Linked DNA regions of Homo sapiens: region 2 is linked to region 1. Evidence: promoter capture Hi-C in 16 types of primary human blood cells and fetal thymus (Javierre and others, 2016). All regions are on one chromosome and are shown on one strand. The core of a region is centred on a gene start or on the middle of the fragment in contact, and the rest is flanking DNA. Distances in the headings are between cores, read along the strand shown. Region 1 holds the start of MYO1F (myosin IF). Region 2 has its middle 8.0 kb from the start of MUC16.

Region 1 (7,911 bases), core at 3,085-5,584:
ACCATCCTTGCTAACACGGTGAAACCCCATCTCTACTAAAAAAATAGAAAAAAATTAGCCAGGCATGGTGGCGGGCGCCTGTAGTCCCAGCTACTCGGGAGGCTGAGGCAGGAGAATGGCATGAACCTAGGAGGTGGGGCTTGCAGTGAGCCAAGATCATGCCACTGCACTCCATCCTGGGTGACAGAGCGAGACTCTGTCTCAAAAAAAAAAGAAGAGACAATCACTATTATCCTCACATGACCACCATCACCAACCAAAGGCAACCAGTGAACGTCTTCACTCTCTCTCCTACCCTTCTCAAAGACAAACAGAAACTGCTGATAACTCCAATACCATCATGACTAGCCAATGTCAGACAGGTCCCATGAGCAATTCCAGCATCAGCCTTCCTTACATTCTCCCACGATCACCACCACCACCACCACCACGCTATAATAACCAACCACCATCTAGTCATCGGCCAGGCACAGTGGCTCACACCTGTAATCTCACACTTTGGGAGGCCAAAGCGGGTGGATCACTTGAGGTTAGGAGTTGGAGACCAGCCTGGCCAACATGGCGAAACCCCGTCTCCACTAAAAGCACAAAAATTAGCTGGGTGTGGTGGCAGGTGCTTGTAATCTCAGCTACTTGGGAGGCTGAGGCACGAGAATTGCTTGAAGCCAGGAGGTGGAGGTTGCAGTGAGCCGAGATTGCACCACTGCACTCCAGCCGGGGTGACAGAGCGAGACTCTGTCTCAGAAACAAAACAAAACAAAAAAACAATACTAGCCATCAACAACCACACATAACCAACTACCATTAGCAACCACAGAAAGCAGCAGTCACCAGTCCTATCCTGTTCAAAACCCAACATTGAACCAGCACCACCATTGCTGATCATCATCTTACCAGAAACCAACAATAAACTACCAGCAGCAAATGAACGCTACTACCAACACCTTTCCTCTCCAAATAACAGCAACCACCGATGGTCATCATTCCACTGGTCACCAAGCATCTCCAGAATTTCCAGCTGAAAACAATCCACCACCAACGAACAACATTAAACACCAACCGCCACCACCACCAGCCCACCTGCAAGAGCCATTATCACCACGAACCTGCAACAAGAAACAGCCACAACCACCACCACAACCAATGACACCAACAACCCAGCAATGACCACTCGCAGCAACTCCTCCCCAATTACCACAATCGTCACCTCCGTCCATCCTCATTGCTGAATCCAGAAATGAATGGACATCCCAGCTAATGGCAGCTACCATGGATCAAGTGCATGTTATGTGCTCTGTAAAGCAATGGTCCCCAACATTTTTGGCACCAGAGACCGGTTTAATGGAAGACAATTTTTCCATGGACCATGGAGCGGGGCATTAGATTTTCTTTTCTTTCTTTTCCTTTATTTCTTCTTTTTTCCCTTTCTTTCTTTCTTTCTTTCTTTCTTTCTTTCTTTCTTTCTTTCTTTCTCTCTCTCTCTCTCTCTCTTTCTTTCTTTCTTTCTTTCTTTCTTTCTTTCTTTCTTTCTTTCTTTCCTTTCTTTCTCTTTCTTCTTTCTCTCTTTCTTTCTTTCTTCCTTTCTCTTTCTCTCTTTCTTTCTTTTTCTTTCTCTTTCTTTCTTTCTTTTTCTTTCTTTCTTTCTCTCTCTCTTTCTTTTTTTTTTGAGATGGAGCCTCTCTCTGTGGCCCAGGCTGGAGTGCAGTGGCGTGATCTCGTCTCATTGCGACCTCTGCCTCCTGGGTTCAAGTGATTCTCCTATCTCAGGTTCCCGGGTAGCTGGGGTTACAGGCGCGCACCACCACGACTGGCTAATTTTTGTATTTTTAGTAGAGACAGGGTTTTGCCATGTTGGCCAGGCTGGTCTTGAACTCTTGACCTCAGGTGATCCGCCCACCTCGGCCTCCAAAAGTGTTGAGATTACAGGCATGAGCCACTGCACCCTGCCAACGGCATTAGATTTTCTTTTTCTTTTTTTTTTTTTTTTGAGACGGAGTCTGGCTCTGTCGCCGAGGCTGTAGTGCAATGGTGTGATCTTGGCTCACTGCAACCTCCGCCTCCCGGGTTCAAGCGATTCTCCTGCCTCAGCCTCCCGAGTAGCTAGGATGACAGGCATGTGCCACCACACCCAGCTCATTTTTGTATTTTTAGGAGAGACGGGGTCTCACCACGTTGGCCAGGATCGTTTCTATCTCTTGACTTCGTGATCTGCCCGCCTCGGCCTCCCAAAGTGCTAGGATTACAGGTGTGAGCCACCGCACCCGGCCGGGCATTAGATTGTCATAAGCAGCATGCAACCTGGATCCCTCGTGTGTGCAGTTCACAACAGGGTTTGCGATCCTGTGATAATCTAATGGCGCCCCCGAGAATCTGAGAGGAGGTGGAGCTCGGGCTTGCTTGCCTGCCACTCATCTCCTGCTCTGTGACCCGATAGGGCTCATGGTTTCTAACAGACAGACCATGGCCCGATAGCAGTCCATGACCCCGGGGGTTGGGGACCCTGTTGTAAAGGACTTCAGAAATACTGTTTCATTGAATCCTTCAGCGATCTTCCTGGCATTCACCACTCCTCCAGGAAGATTTCAGCATCCCCAGACAGAGGTGGGTGTCATTTTTTTCTCTTCTATCATCCTCTGCGATACGGGTGGCCCCTCCCAGACCTTGTCTGCCAAGCCGACTGTTGACTAAGCATTTTCAGAGGGCTTCCTTGGGGAGGGGTTGCCTTTCTTTCAAGTAGCAAATCACTTCCTGTGTTCTTTTGATCAAAGCCCTGCCCATCCCAGGACCTGAGCCTCCCTGGCTTGCTTCTCATCTTGGAAGAATTCCCACCCCAACAGTCTCAGAGCTCCAGCTGATGGTTTGGGTGTGAATTCCGGGATGCCCAATTTCTCATCAGCTTTCCTTTTTTGAGACGGAGTGTGCTCTGTCACCCAGGCTGGAGTGCAGCGGCAGGATCTCAGCTCACTGCACCCTCCGCCTCCTGGGTTCAAGTTATTCTCTTGCCTCAGCCTCATATGTAGCTGGGATTACAGGCGTGTGCCACCACGCCCAGTTAATTTTTTGTATTTTTTAGTAGAGACGAGGTTTCACCACGTTGGCCAGGCTGGTCTCGAACACCTGACCTCAAGTGATCTACCTGTCTCAGCCTCCTAAAATGCTGGGATTACAGGCATGAGCCACTGTCCCTGGCCCTCACTGGCTTCCTGAAAGAAGGTGTTGTCTCTCAGACTAACACCACCTCTGCCTCTTGCCCTATGTCCCTGACTCCACCCTAGTAAGCTGTACCTGCCAAGAATCCTGCAGTGGCCGCTGTCACAGCCACATGCTCTCATCCTCACTGACTGAATGACGAGAAATGAAAGCTGAAGTGGTCTACACAGCAGAGAGCTGTGGGGTGGGGTCAGCCCTGGCCACCTCTTACTTTGCGTCTTATGGTGGTACGATACTGCTAGGAATAGCGCCATGATCACGACAGTCTCCCCGTTGCTATCATCGACAGACCTCAGACTTGACAGGCAGCAACACCTCTGGCTGCCATCCTCCTCTTGGGATAAGGGATGCCCACCAAAGGGTGGCATGGACGTATTCAGCCTCTCCTGCCTCTGCTGCAGCCATACCGCCCGTCACCGGCACAGGGAGGGCGTCAATCCACCCCATCGCTTGTTAGACATAGCTTCCCATCTCAGCCGAGGACTCTGTGGCAGAACCCACAGACCTTGAGAATGTTGCAACTGAAAGACCCCTGAAGAGCAACTTCCGCATCTAGACGGATTTCCAAATATGACATCTGTGGGAACCGGGGCCAAGAGAGGGGAAGTGACTAGCCCAAGGCTACACAGGGAGACGAGAGACTGGGCTGGACTGGGAAAGGGCTCCCTTAATTTGCAAGCAAAGGAGGCTATGTCCTTGTCCCTGCAGACTCTGTGATTCTCCCTGGGCCACCTTCTGTCTTCCAGGTCCTGCCCTATCCTTGGATCCAGGGATACCACCCTGGCATCCCCACCACCTACAGATGGGAGCTTGCTCCCTGGTAAGGGATGCTGGAGGCACCTGAGCTGCACTGAGAGACACCCCACCCCCACAGAAGTCCACCATGCCCCTCCCCTCACCCCAATTTCTGATGGTCATTTTTAGGACACCTCCACCTGGCTGGTGTCCCTCCTCTTTCTTCTTCCAGATCCCACCCTTGAAGGACTTACCATGGTGGGGGGCTGGTGTCTGGGCTCCTGGAGGCTCCTGAATGGGTCGTGATGGAGGTGCAGGTTCAGGGGGATCTTGGGGGTGGCTTGGGCATGGCCCTGCTTCTGCCCGTTCACCGGACTCCCGGCTTTAGTTCCTCTTACAACAGCCCCTTCTCACTTCCTTTGGCGGGAGGGGCCGAGGCCATGGGGGAGGGAAGCTGGGTGTGGAGGGGGGCGGGGAGCTGGCTGTTTGGGGCTCTGAGCCTGAAGGGAGGGGTCAGAACTTGATGGCAGCCACTACTGGACCTCAGAGGCCTCTTCCCCAACTCCTTGGGGACAGGGCTGCTGCAGGAACATTTGGGTCAGCTGGCTGCAGGACGAACCACCTCTTTTCAGGGCGATTCAGGAAGCATTTGGGCTTCCCGGGTCTCTTTTTAAAACCAAGGAAGGGGCCCAGGGGAGGTGGCTCACGCCTGTAATCCCAATACTTTGGGGGGCCAAGGTTGGAGGATCGCTTGAGTCCAGGAGTTTGAGACCAGCCTGGGCTATATAGCATGACCCCATCTCTACAAAAAATGAAAAGAAAAAAAATTAGCTGGGCATGGTGGCATGAGCCTGCAGTCCCAGCTACTCAGAGGGCTGAGGTGGGAGGATTGCTTGAACCTGGGAGGTGGAGGCCTCAGTGAGCCCTGATTGCGCCACTGCACTCCAGCCTGGGCGAAAGAGTGAGACCCTGTCTCTAAAAACAAACCAGAAAAAACAAAAAAACCAAAAAAACAACAACAACAGGGAAGGGTGCCTTCTTCAGCTGTGTCTGCTCTGGGCATCCCTGGGCAACCTCCTTCATTATTATTATTGTTATTATTTTGAGACGGAGTCTAGCTCTGTCACCCAGGCTAGAATGCAGTGGTGCAATCTCAGCTTACTTTAATCTCCGCCTCCTGGGTTCAAGCGATTCTCCTGCCTCAGCCTCCTGAGTAGCTGGGATTACAGGTGCCCACCGCCACACCTGGCTAATATTTGTATTTTTAGTAGAGACGGAATTTCGCCATGTTGGCCAGGCCGGCCTTGAACTCCTGACCTCAGGTGATCCTCCCAACTCGGCCTCCCAAAGTGCTGGGATTACAGGCATAAGCCACCACGCCTGGCCCAACCTCCCTCTTTAGATGACCCTCAGAAGTCACACGTGTTTGTGTGCAGAAGTGGAGGGTACTGGGAAGCAGGTGCATCTGAAAGGTCCCTGACTTTGGATGTCACATCTAGATTTAACAGCCTCCAGTTTGGCTACTTCCTGGATGACTTAGTTACTCCCTTTTCTCATTGTAAAATGGGAACGTGGGTCCCCCCAGCAGAGCCTGGCCCAGGTACGTGTCAGCCTATGAGCTGGTCTTTGGGACACCAGCCAACCACCTGAGGCTCCTCTTGACATGTGAGGAAATGGCAGTTCTAATAGGTTGTTACTTCCCCACACCACCCAGCAAGGAGGTGGCCGAGGCAGGACCCGACCCTGGGAGACCCTGGGGGACCCATGTTCAGATCTATCTTTGGTCCAGGGCGATAAACCCGCATCCCCCTTGAAGATGTTAATATGCAGCGCCCCTAGTGGCCACAGCTGGGAAGGAGCCCGTCTCTGCTGGAATCTCCTGAGCGAGTTTGCAGAATTGACGGGCTTGGGGCATGCAATTCTCAGCAATGTCTCCAGGCACTCAAGAGTGAATATGAATGGGTAAGAGGACCCCACTTTGTTGGGGGCCATCAGGGGAGGCTTCTAGGAAGAGGCAACGTTTGTGCTGACACCGGCGAGTAAGCTGGAGTTAAAAAAGGTAAAGGGGCAGGAGCGTGCACCTGGCCATGCTAAGCGCTCAAGCAAAGGCCCAGATATGGGAAAACCATAGGGCAATTGAGGAAGTTCGGGGAGGCTGGTGTGGCTGGAGCATGCGGAGTGACGGAGAGTGTGATGGCCAGGGTGGCAGGTGCTAGACCGTGTGGCTTTAAGAGCCTCTGTGAGGGCCAGGCATGGTGGCTGATGCCTGTAATCCCAGAACTTTGGGAGGCTGAGGTGGGAGGATCGCTTGAGCCCAGGAGTTCCAGACCAGCTTGGGCAACATAGCAAGACCTCGTCTCTACAAAAAATTAAAAAATCAGCTAGGTGTGCTGTTGCACCTATAATCTCAGTTACTTGGCAGGGTAGGCAGGAGAATCGTTTAAGCCCAGGAGTTCAAGGCTGCAGTGAGCTGAGATCGTGCCACTGAACTCCAGCCTGGGCTACAGAGTGAGACCCTGTCTCAAAAAACAAAAACAAAAAAGCAAAACCCTTCCACGAGAAGCTGTTGTACTTTTCTCCTAAAATCCCTGGGTTCCTGTCTGCAATGTTAAAAGTCCCCTTCTGGCTGGGCACGGTGGCCCATGCCTGTAATCCCAGCACTCTGGGAGGCCGAGGCGGGCAGATCACGAGGTCAGGAGATCGAGACCATCCTGGCTAACACGGTGAAACCCCGTCTCTACTAAAAAAGTACAAAAAATTAGCTGGGCATGTTGGCGGGCGCCTGTAGTGCCAGCTACTCGGGAGGCTGAGGCGAGAATGGCATGAACCCAGGAGGCGGAGCTTGCAGTGAGCCGAGATCGTGCCACTGCACTCCAGCCTGGGCAACAGTGCAAGACTCCGTCTCAAAAAAAAAAAAAAATAAAAAAAAAAAATAAATAAATCAGCTGGGTGTGGTCGTGCACGCCTGTAGTCCCAGCTATTCAGAAGGTGGAAGTGGGAGGATCACTTGAGTCCAGGAGATCAAGGCTGCAGTGAGCTATGATAGGCATAGCTGGGCGACAGGGACCGTCTCAGGAAAAAAAAAAAAGAAGTCCCCTTTTGGCTGTTGGGTAGACCTGGGAGAATGGGTGGTCCTTTCCAGACCTGGGTGGGGGCTACTGGATGCACTGACACACACACACCGCAATTCGTAGAAATCTACACAAGACAGAACTTTATTGATGTAGGGCTTCCTGGCAGGAGTGTGTGGGCCCCAGGGCAGGGTCTGTAGCACCATGAGGGGGTGGCCTGGATGTCGGGGTGCCCCTGGGGCGGGCAGGGCAGAGGTTGGGGTGGATCCTCCCCCTAGTCAGGTCAGGGGAGGGTGTCAGGGAGGTGGTGCTACCCCCCCCCCTCCCATAGCAGACACAGATTCCCCCCCAGCTCGGAGTGGAGGGGTAGGGCAGTGCTGGGGGGCAGGGCACCGGCAGACCACCTCCCCACCCCTACTCTTCACAGTACATATTCCGATCAAAGGAGGGGGGGAGTGTTGGGGACTCCCTAAGGGTGGGTTCAAAGGGTGCTGGGGTGAACAGCTGTCCCCTCCCCAGACCCACCCTGGAGGGGGGGTCTCACTATGTGAACTGGAAGGGGCGGATGCTGAAGAGGGGCTCTGGGGGGATAGCCAGCCCCTCTCCATCCCCCCAGCCAGGGCCCTGCAGGGGTTCCCAATAAATAACTTCCGGCTCCGTCTCACCCTTCCCTCCCAGTTCCCGCCCCCCCGGGGCCCCCTCTGGCCGGCCCGCTGCAGGGCTGGCGGCGGAGACCCCGCCAGCTGTGGCTCCGGGTGCCGCGCGCCCCCTAGTGGCCATGGCAGGTTTTGCAGCACATCTGGCGGAAGTAGGCTCGGCTGCAGAACTGAAATTTGAGCACCAGGGGGCAGTAGGCGACCTTGTTCACATCCTTGCACTCTGCGGGGACGGGAGA
Region 2 (7,911 bases), core at 1,407-3,906, 500 kb after region 1:
TATAGCCGCACACCACCAAGCCTGGCTAATTTTTGTATTGTTAGTAGAGACGGGGTTTCACCATGTTGGGCAGGCTGGTCTTGAACTCCTGACCTCGTGGTCTGCCCACCTTGGCCTCTCAAAGTGCTGGGATTACAGATGTGAGGCACTGCTCCTGGCCAGGTTCCTCTTTTCAAAGGCAGCTCCCGGGGGCACGGCTGACTTGTGTCTGGTAACTTTTTTTTTTTTTAAGGAAAACCATCTAGTTTTTTGGGAAAACCAGACTCAGAGCTCAGAGGATCTGAGCAGAGATTTAGGCTCCTGGGTCCTCCAGCTCCTTGAACCCACGGGGAATCCAGCAGCGGTTGCTCCCTTCCCCCCTAAGGAATGCAGGAACCCTGCCCAGAAGTGGCATTAGTAACTGAGCTCTCCCTTTGTCCCTAAGCTGCCATTCCATTGTCTTCCCCCAGTGATCACGGAAAAGGTCCTGGAGGGTGGAGGAGAGGTGCTCAGAATGGAGGAGGAGGAGGGGTGTTGGGACTGCTCAGCTCCTGCTGAAGTAAACACCTGCTCTGTGTTCCATAAGCTGGGACCCCAGGGTCAGGCCAAAGGGAAATGGATACCCCGGGTTTGGGTGGTCGCCACAAATTCTAATGCATGTACTACCTACATCATAGCCGCCCCCCCACCAAATAAGCCCAGTGATTAAGCGTACAGTTTCTGGAGCCTGGTGCCAGAGTTTGAAACCTCCTTTTTTTTTTTTTTTGGAGACAAGGTCTTACTCTGTCGCCCAGGCTGGAGTGCAGTGGCACGATCTCGGCTCACTGCAACCTCCACCTCCCAGGTTCAAGCGATTCTCCTGCCTCAGCCTCCCTAGTAGCTGGGATTACAGGCACCCCCCACTGTGCCCACCTAATTTTTGTATTTTTAGTAGAGACGGGGTTTTACCATGTTGGCCAGGCTGGTCTTGAACTTCTGACCTCAGGTGATCCACCCGCCTCAGCCTCCCAAAGTGCTAGGATTACAGGCTTCAACCACCACGCCCGGCCTAATTTTTTTTTTTTTTTTTTTTGAGACAGTTTCGCTCTTGTCACCCAGGTTAGACTGCAATGGCACAGTCTCGGCTCACCTCAAACTCCACCTCCCAGATTCAAGCGATTCTCCTGCCTCAGCCTCCGGAGTAGCTGGGATTACAGGCGTGCACCACGACGCCCAGATAATTTTTGTATTTTTAGTAGAGACGGGGTTTCACCATGTTGGTCAGACTGGTCTTGAACTCCCGACCTCAGGTGACCAGCCCTCCTTGGCCTCCCAAAGTGCTGGGATTACAGGCGTGAGCCACCACACCCGGCCCTCTTTAAAGTTCTAAAATGCTTCTAACCTTTAAGCTGTCCTTGTTCATTCCTGGGCTTAGGCCAAACTAACTTTGGGAAGGAATTCAGCTGATGGTTTGACTCTGAAACAAAACTGATAACAGCCCTTTCCCTAAAAGACCCACTTCTTGCCTGGGAACCAGTCTGCCTTTGCAGGACTAACAAATTAGCTACAAGATTAGAAATTACAGTTTAGGAGTCATGCAGCCTCTGGGTCCAAGAGTCTGAACGTCCCCAGATTGCTCCCAGAGGTAGCATCACTATTGTAAAACCTAAAATCAGTGCTTGAGATAGTTTGCAGACCCTGCACTCGATGGATCAGCTGACACCACCCAGACCATCAGACCAGACCAGTCAAGATCGCACCATTGCACTCCAGCCTGGGCAACAAGAGTGAAACCCCATCTCAGAAAAAAAAAAAAAAAAAAAAAAAAAAAAAAAGAAGGAAAAGAAAGAAACTCTACACTTCCTGTCCTTATTCCTGGGAATTTATTTAACAATTTAATTTCTCACCATACCCGAGGGAAGGCACAGCCTATTGCAAAGTCATTTTGCACGAAAGCAAACTGGGGCTCAGAGAACCAGGCCTCCAGTCAGTGCTGGTGTCATGGACAACCAGGCTGAGGGCCCATGGCAGAACCTGTTTTATGACATGGCTGCTCTCCCTGAAGCCAGTGAGGCACAAAGCCTAGGGGAGTGGACAAGGGACAGGAAGGTGTGGGTTTCCATCCTGCTGTGTGACCTTGGGGAAGTCACCTAACCTCTCTGAGCCTCATTTTTCTTTCTTTTTTCTTATTTATTTATTTTGAGACAGAGTCTCGCTCTGTCGCCCAGGCCAGAGTGCAGTGGCGCAATCTCAGCTCACTGCAAGCTCCGTCTCCCAGGTTCAAGTGATTCTCCTGCCTCAGCCTCCCGAGTAGCTGGGATTACAAGCGCGTGCCACCACGCCTGGCTAATTTTTGTATTTTTAATACAGATGGGGTTTCTCCATATTGGTCAGGATGGTCTCGAACTCCTGACCTCGTGATTTGCCCACCTCAGCTTCCCAAAGTGCTGGGATTACAGGCATGAGCCACCGTGCCCAGCCTTCTTGTTTTTAGTTTTTTTTTTTTTAATGAAAAAAAAAGTATTATTATGGCCGGGCACGGTGGCTCACGCCCGTAATCCCAGCACTTTGGGAGGCCAAGGTGGGTGGATCACCTGAGGTTAGGAGTTGGAGACCAGCCTGACCAACATGGCAAAACCTCATCTCTACTATAAATACAAAAATTAGCTGGGCATGGTGTCGCATGTGTGTAATCCCACCTACTTGGGAGGCTGAGGCAGGAGAATCGCTTGAACCCGGGAGGCAGAGGTTGCAGTGAGCTGAGATTGTGCCACTGCACCCCAGCCTGGGCAACAGAGAGAGACTCTGTCTCAAAAACAAAACAAAACAAAACAAAAACCAGAAGAGATGTGTGGTGCATGTAAAATACACATGAGATGAGATTTTGAAGACTGATTTTGAAAAAAAGAATGTAAAATGTCTTGGCCATAACTTTCATCAGAATTACTTGATTTGTATTTAAATATCATGGCATTTAGTTTATGGGGGATTTTTTTGTTTTAATTTATCTTTTTTCTTTTTTTCCAGCAAATGCTTAACATCCAAAGTTTATGGTTATATGTTTGAGATGGGATCTCATTCTGTCGCCCAGGCTGGGGTGCAGTGGCTCACTGCAGCCTCTACCTCCTGGGTTCAAGCCATCCTCCCACCTCAGCCTCCCAAGTAGCTGGGACTATATAGGTATGTGCCATCACGTTTGACTAATTTTTAAATTTTTTTGTAGAAGCCGGGTGCAGTGGCAAATGCCTGTAATCCCAGCACTTTGGGAGGCCGAGGCGGGCGGATCACCTGAGGTCAGGAGTTTGAGACCAGCCTGGCCGACATGGTGAAACTCCGTCTCTACCAAAAATACAAAATTAGCTGGGGGTGGTGGCGCGCGCCTGTAATCCCAGCTACTTGGGAGGCTGAGACAGGAAAATCTCTTGAACCTGGGAGACAGAGATTGCAATGAGCCAAGATTGTGCCACTGCACTCCAGCCTGGACGACAAAGTGAGACTCTGTCTAAAAAAAAAAAAAAAAAAAAGTTTTCTGTAGACACCGAATCTCACTATATATGTTCCCCAGGATGAACTTGAAGTCCTGGGCTCAAGTGATCCTCCCATCTCAGCCTCCCAAAGTGCTGGGATTACAGGTGTGAGCCACCGCGCCCGACCCATAGATGCTTGTTAAGGGAAAATCCCAGCACTTTAGGAGGCCAAGGAGGGTGGATCACCTGAAGTCAGGAGTTCGAGACCAGCCTGGCCAATATGGTGAAACCCCATCTCTACAAAAAATACAAAAATTAGCTGGGCTTTTTGGCTGGTGCTTGCAATCCTTGAGAGGCTGAGGCAGGAGAATCACTTGCCTGTAGTCTTAGCTACTTGGGAGGCTGAGGTGGGAGGATTTGCTTGAACCCAGGAGTTCAAGGCTGCAGTCAGCTATGATAGCGCCACTGTACTTCAACCTGGGCAACAGAGGGAGACCTGGTCCCTTAAAAAAAAAAAGACATTTCTCAAGAGGGCCTTCTACCTTCCTTCCTTCCCTTTGAAAAACCTAGGAGGGAGTTACAGATGTTATTGTTCACCAGCTGTATCCTAAGGAATTCAGGTTCGTCCTAAAGGAAAATGCCTTTTCCCCTTTCCTCACCTCGTTTTAGATACTCTCTGGAGGATTTTCCTCAGATTCTCGCTGAAACCTGACTCTCTCCTGGTAATGCAAATATTCCTGGGCTCTCTATGGGAAAGCTGCGGCCCTGTGCCTGACCCCAGGGCACTGGGAGAGAAAGTCTTTCCGGGCCGCAAGGTGTCATAGGAAAGGGGTCCCAATCCAAACCCCAAGAGAGGGCTCTTGGATCTCAGGCAAGTCTGTAAAGTGAAAGCAAGTTTTTAGGAAAGTAAAGGAATAAAAGAATGGCTACTCCATAGACAGAGCAGCCCCAAGGGCTGCTGGTTGCCCATTTTTATGGTTATTTCTTGATAATATGCTAAAGAAGGGGAGGATTATTCATGCCTCACCTTTTTAGAGCATCTGGGGTAACTTCCTGGTGTCGCCATGGCATCTGTAAACTGTCATGGTGTTACTGGTAGAAGGTGTCCAGGTTCTTGGCATCCCAAACAAAGAATTGGACAAAACACACCAACAAAGCAAAAGCAAGGAAGGCAGAAGCAGGGATTTTTTTTTTTTTTTTTTTTTTTTGAGACGGAGTCTTCCTCTGTCATCCAGGCTGGAGTGCAATGGTGCAATCTTGGCTCACCGCAACCTCCGCCTCCCGGGTTCAAGTGATTCTCGTGCCTCAGCCTTCCGAGCAGCTGAGATTATAGGCATGCACCCCCATGCCCGGCTAATTTTGTATTTTTTTTTAGTAGAGTCGGGGTTTCTCCATGTTGGTTAGGCTGGTCTCGAACTCCCAACCTCAGGTGAACTCCCGACCTCAGGTGATCCGGCTGCCTCGGCCTCCCAAAGTGCTGGGATTACAGGTGTGAGCCACCGCGCCCCAGCCAGAGGCAGGGATTTATTGAGAATGAAAGCACACTCCACAGTGTGGGAGTGGGCTGGAGCATAGGGGCTCAAAGTCCCCATTACAGAATTTTTCGGAGTTTAAATACCCTTTACTTGGGGTACGCCCTATGTAAATGGAGAGGATGAAGTAAGGTTACAGTCATTGACTTGGCTTCCGCCCTTCCTGCCATAGGTGAAGTGTGAATCGACCTTATATTCTTGGCCTCCAGACCTTGTTTTCCTGACTCAGTGACACTGATGGGAGTGTAGCAGTGAGGACAACCAGAGGTCACTATTGGGGCCATCTTGGTTTTGGTGGGTTTTGACTGGCTTCTTTTTGCAACCTGTTTTATCAGCAAGGTCTTTATGACCTGCATCTTGTGCTGACCTCCTATCTCATCCTGTGACTTAGAATGCCTTAATTGTCTGGGAACACAGCCCAGCAGGTCTTGGCCTTATTTTACCCAGCCCCTACACAAGATGGAGTCACTCTGGTTTAAACATCTCTGACAAAGGCATTCAGAGAGAAAGTCTGTCCATGTGAACATTGTCTCCTAAGCTTGCCGGGTGCTCCAATCACGGCCATGGGCAGGACGTGTGACAGCTGGTCTCCCCCTCCAAGACTCCCAGACTAGCAGGCAAATCTAACATTCCAGAAACCCTTAAATAGTTCATGAATGACACCTGAAATCTGCATTCTGCTGGGGGAGGCAGGGACGTGTCTTGGCCGTGGCTGGGAAGCAAGATTTTTAAAGCTCAGGCCTGAGCTGGAAGAAAAGACTGGAGGAAGAGGGGAGGGGATGGGCAGGATTCCAACTCTCCTGGGGGAGTTCCAGGCTGGGGCAACACCGGTTTTACTTTCTGAAGCGGAGGGAGGTCTCTGTCCATCTCCTGCTGACACCCACCCCACCTGGGCCTGGCTGCTACCCGAGGGTAATTATCTGCACCCAGCCATGCACCGCACCGCCGTTCCCACTGCCCATGACTCACTCGGCCCCCCTTGCGTTCTTTGTTCTTCGCCTCCTTCCCCCACCTCCCTGCAGGCTTCACACTTTGCAGGCCTAGGTCTTAGTCATCTCTGGGAACGGCTCCAATTTTCTTACAATGATAAGTAAATGGATCATTCTTTAGCTCGGCTAGAATGTCCCCATCTTTATTCTCAGAGCAATTCCTTGCACATAGCCGCATGCCCTCATCATAGGGATTTTGCCCTGGCTGCCACCTTGCCCTCCTTCTGGTTCCCTGTTTCATTTTCGAAGGTCTTTCTTCTTTGAGACAAGGTCTCACTCTGCCCCTAGGTGAAGGGCAGTGATGCGATCATAGTTTACTGTAGCCTCCAACTCCTGGGCCCAATCGATCCTCCAACCTTGGCCTCCTGAGTAGCTGGGACTGTAGGCACCCGGCTAATTTTTAAAAATTATTTTCAGAGACAGGGTCTTGGCCGGGTGCGGTGGCTCATGCCTGTAATCTCTGTACTTTAGGAGGCCGAGGTGGGTGGATCACCTGAGGTCCGGAGTTCCAGACCAGCCTGGCCAAAATGGTGAAACCCCGTCTATATTAAAAATACAAAAAAATTAGCCAGGCGTAGTGGTGCACGCTTGTAGTCTCAGCTACTCAGGAGACTGACGCAGGAGAATCACTTGAACCCAGGAGGTGGAGGTTGCAGTGAGCCGAAATTATGCCATTGCACTCCAGCCTGGGCGACAAGAACAAAACTCCATCTCAAAAACAAAACAAACAAACAAACAAAAAAACTCAAAAGAGACAGGTTCTTGCTGTGTTGCCCAGGCTGGTCTCGAACTCCTGACCTCAAGTGATCCTACTGCATTGGCCTCCCAAAATGCTGAGATGACAGTCGTGAGCCACCACACCTGGCCTCGTTTTGAAGGTCTTGAATCAAATAATTACCTTTTCCTTGAGGTATCTGGAATATATAGATAACATAACCGGTTAGGTCAGGGGTCGATCTTTAACCAGGCCCAGGGTGCGGTGCCGGGCTGTCTGCCTATGGATTTGATTTCTGCCATTTAGTTTTTACTTCTTCTTTCTTTGGAGGCAGAAATTGGGCATAATATGAGGGGTGGTGTCCTCCCTTACTATGATTGTGCCCCTGCACTCCAGCCTGGTCAACACAGCAAGACCCTGTCTCAAAAAGAAAAGGGATCTAACATCTTTTTAAATTTACTTATTTATTCTACCTGTAGACTCTTAACACTAGAATGTCAGGGATTTTTGCATGTTGGTTCATTCACTGATCCGTTGTATTCTCAGACCTGGGGCTTGTCAAGCATGCAGGCACTGAATGAACATCTGTTAAGGAAATGCCGAGTGAGCCAAGCATGGAATTTGTAAGGCTCTTGTGTCGTTTCGAACCCCGAGAGCAAGCCAACAAACAACATGAGCTGGTGTGGAGCAACACGCTGTTTTAATGTGCACCTGGGTGCAGACGGCTGAGGCCTAAAATGGCGTCAGCCCCAAGTGAGGACGGGGCAGGGGTTTTATAGTCTCCCGTAAACAGCAAGTGTCCCAGTCTGACGTAACTGCTACATGGTACCCGGATGGCCCGTCTCTTGATCTTCAGGGGCATGTGTCTTCCGGCCAGGGTAGATGTCTTCCAGCCAGGGTACGTGTCTTCCGGCCAGGGCAGGTGTCTTCCGGCCAAGGTAGCTGTCTTCCGGCCAGGGTAGATGTCTTCCGGCCAGGGTAGATGTCTTCCGGCCAGGGTAGGTGTCTTCCGGCCAGGGTAGATGTCTTCCGGCCAGGGTAGATGTCTTCCGGCCAGGGTACGTGTCTTCCGGCCAGGGTACATGTCTTCCGGCCATCTCTCTTCCTGCTTCTGCTATCTTGCTGGCGCATGCTGCTGGGGCAAGTAGCCTTGCACCTTGGGACTGGGCCTGAGAAGGGAGGAGTTATTCATCCCCCCAAGTTTATCCTCCCAAGTTTTCAGGCCGCGGGGAGAATCTTTCAGAATTATT

Evidence for each region. Contacts are between HindIII fragments. The CHiCAGO score rates a contact against its expected background, and 5 or more counts as called.
Region 2: a contact is called between a fragment that was not itself captured here and the fragment with the promoter of MYO1F in region 1, in 1 of 17 cell types (M2 macrophages). The highest score is 5.0, in M2 macrophages.

Annotation. Positions count from the first base shown.
Region 1 is chr19:8,573,108-8,581,018 of GRCh38, forward strand. It overlaps MYO1F (myosin IF), which reads right to left and starts at 4,335. Exons shown (of 28, transcript NM_012335.4): 1 at 4,200-4,335. The coding sequence starts at 4,202. It overlaps ADAMTS10 (ADAM metallopeptidase with thrombospondin type 1 motif 10), which reads right to left. Exons shown (of 26, transcript NM_030957.4): 26 at 7,133-7,895. The coding sequence ends at 7,786. RefSeq lists enhancers at 2,780-2,839, 3,180-3,239, 3,410-3,589 and silencers at 3,710-3,759, 4,297-4,446, 5,667-5,861, 7,673-7,722. The HindIII fragment of the contact is 24,150 bases long and covers 1-7,911 here.
Region 2 is chr19:9,069,843-9,077,753 of GRCh38, forward strand. No RefSeq gene overlaps it. Among named protein-coding and RNA genes, the nearest start is that of MUC16, 8.0 kb to the left of the region's middle. RefSeq lists enhancers at 1-466, 467-1,400, 4,259-5,146. The HindIII fragment of the contact is 5,674 bases long and covers 1-5,493 here.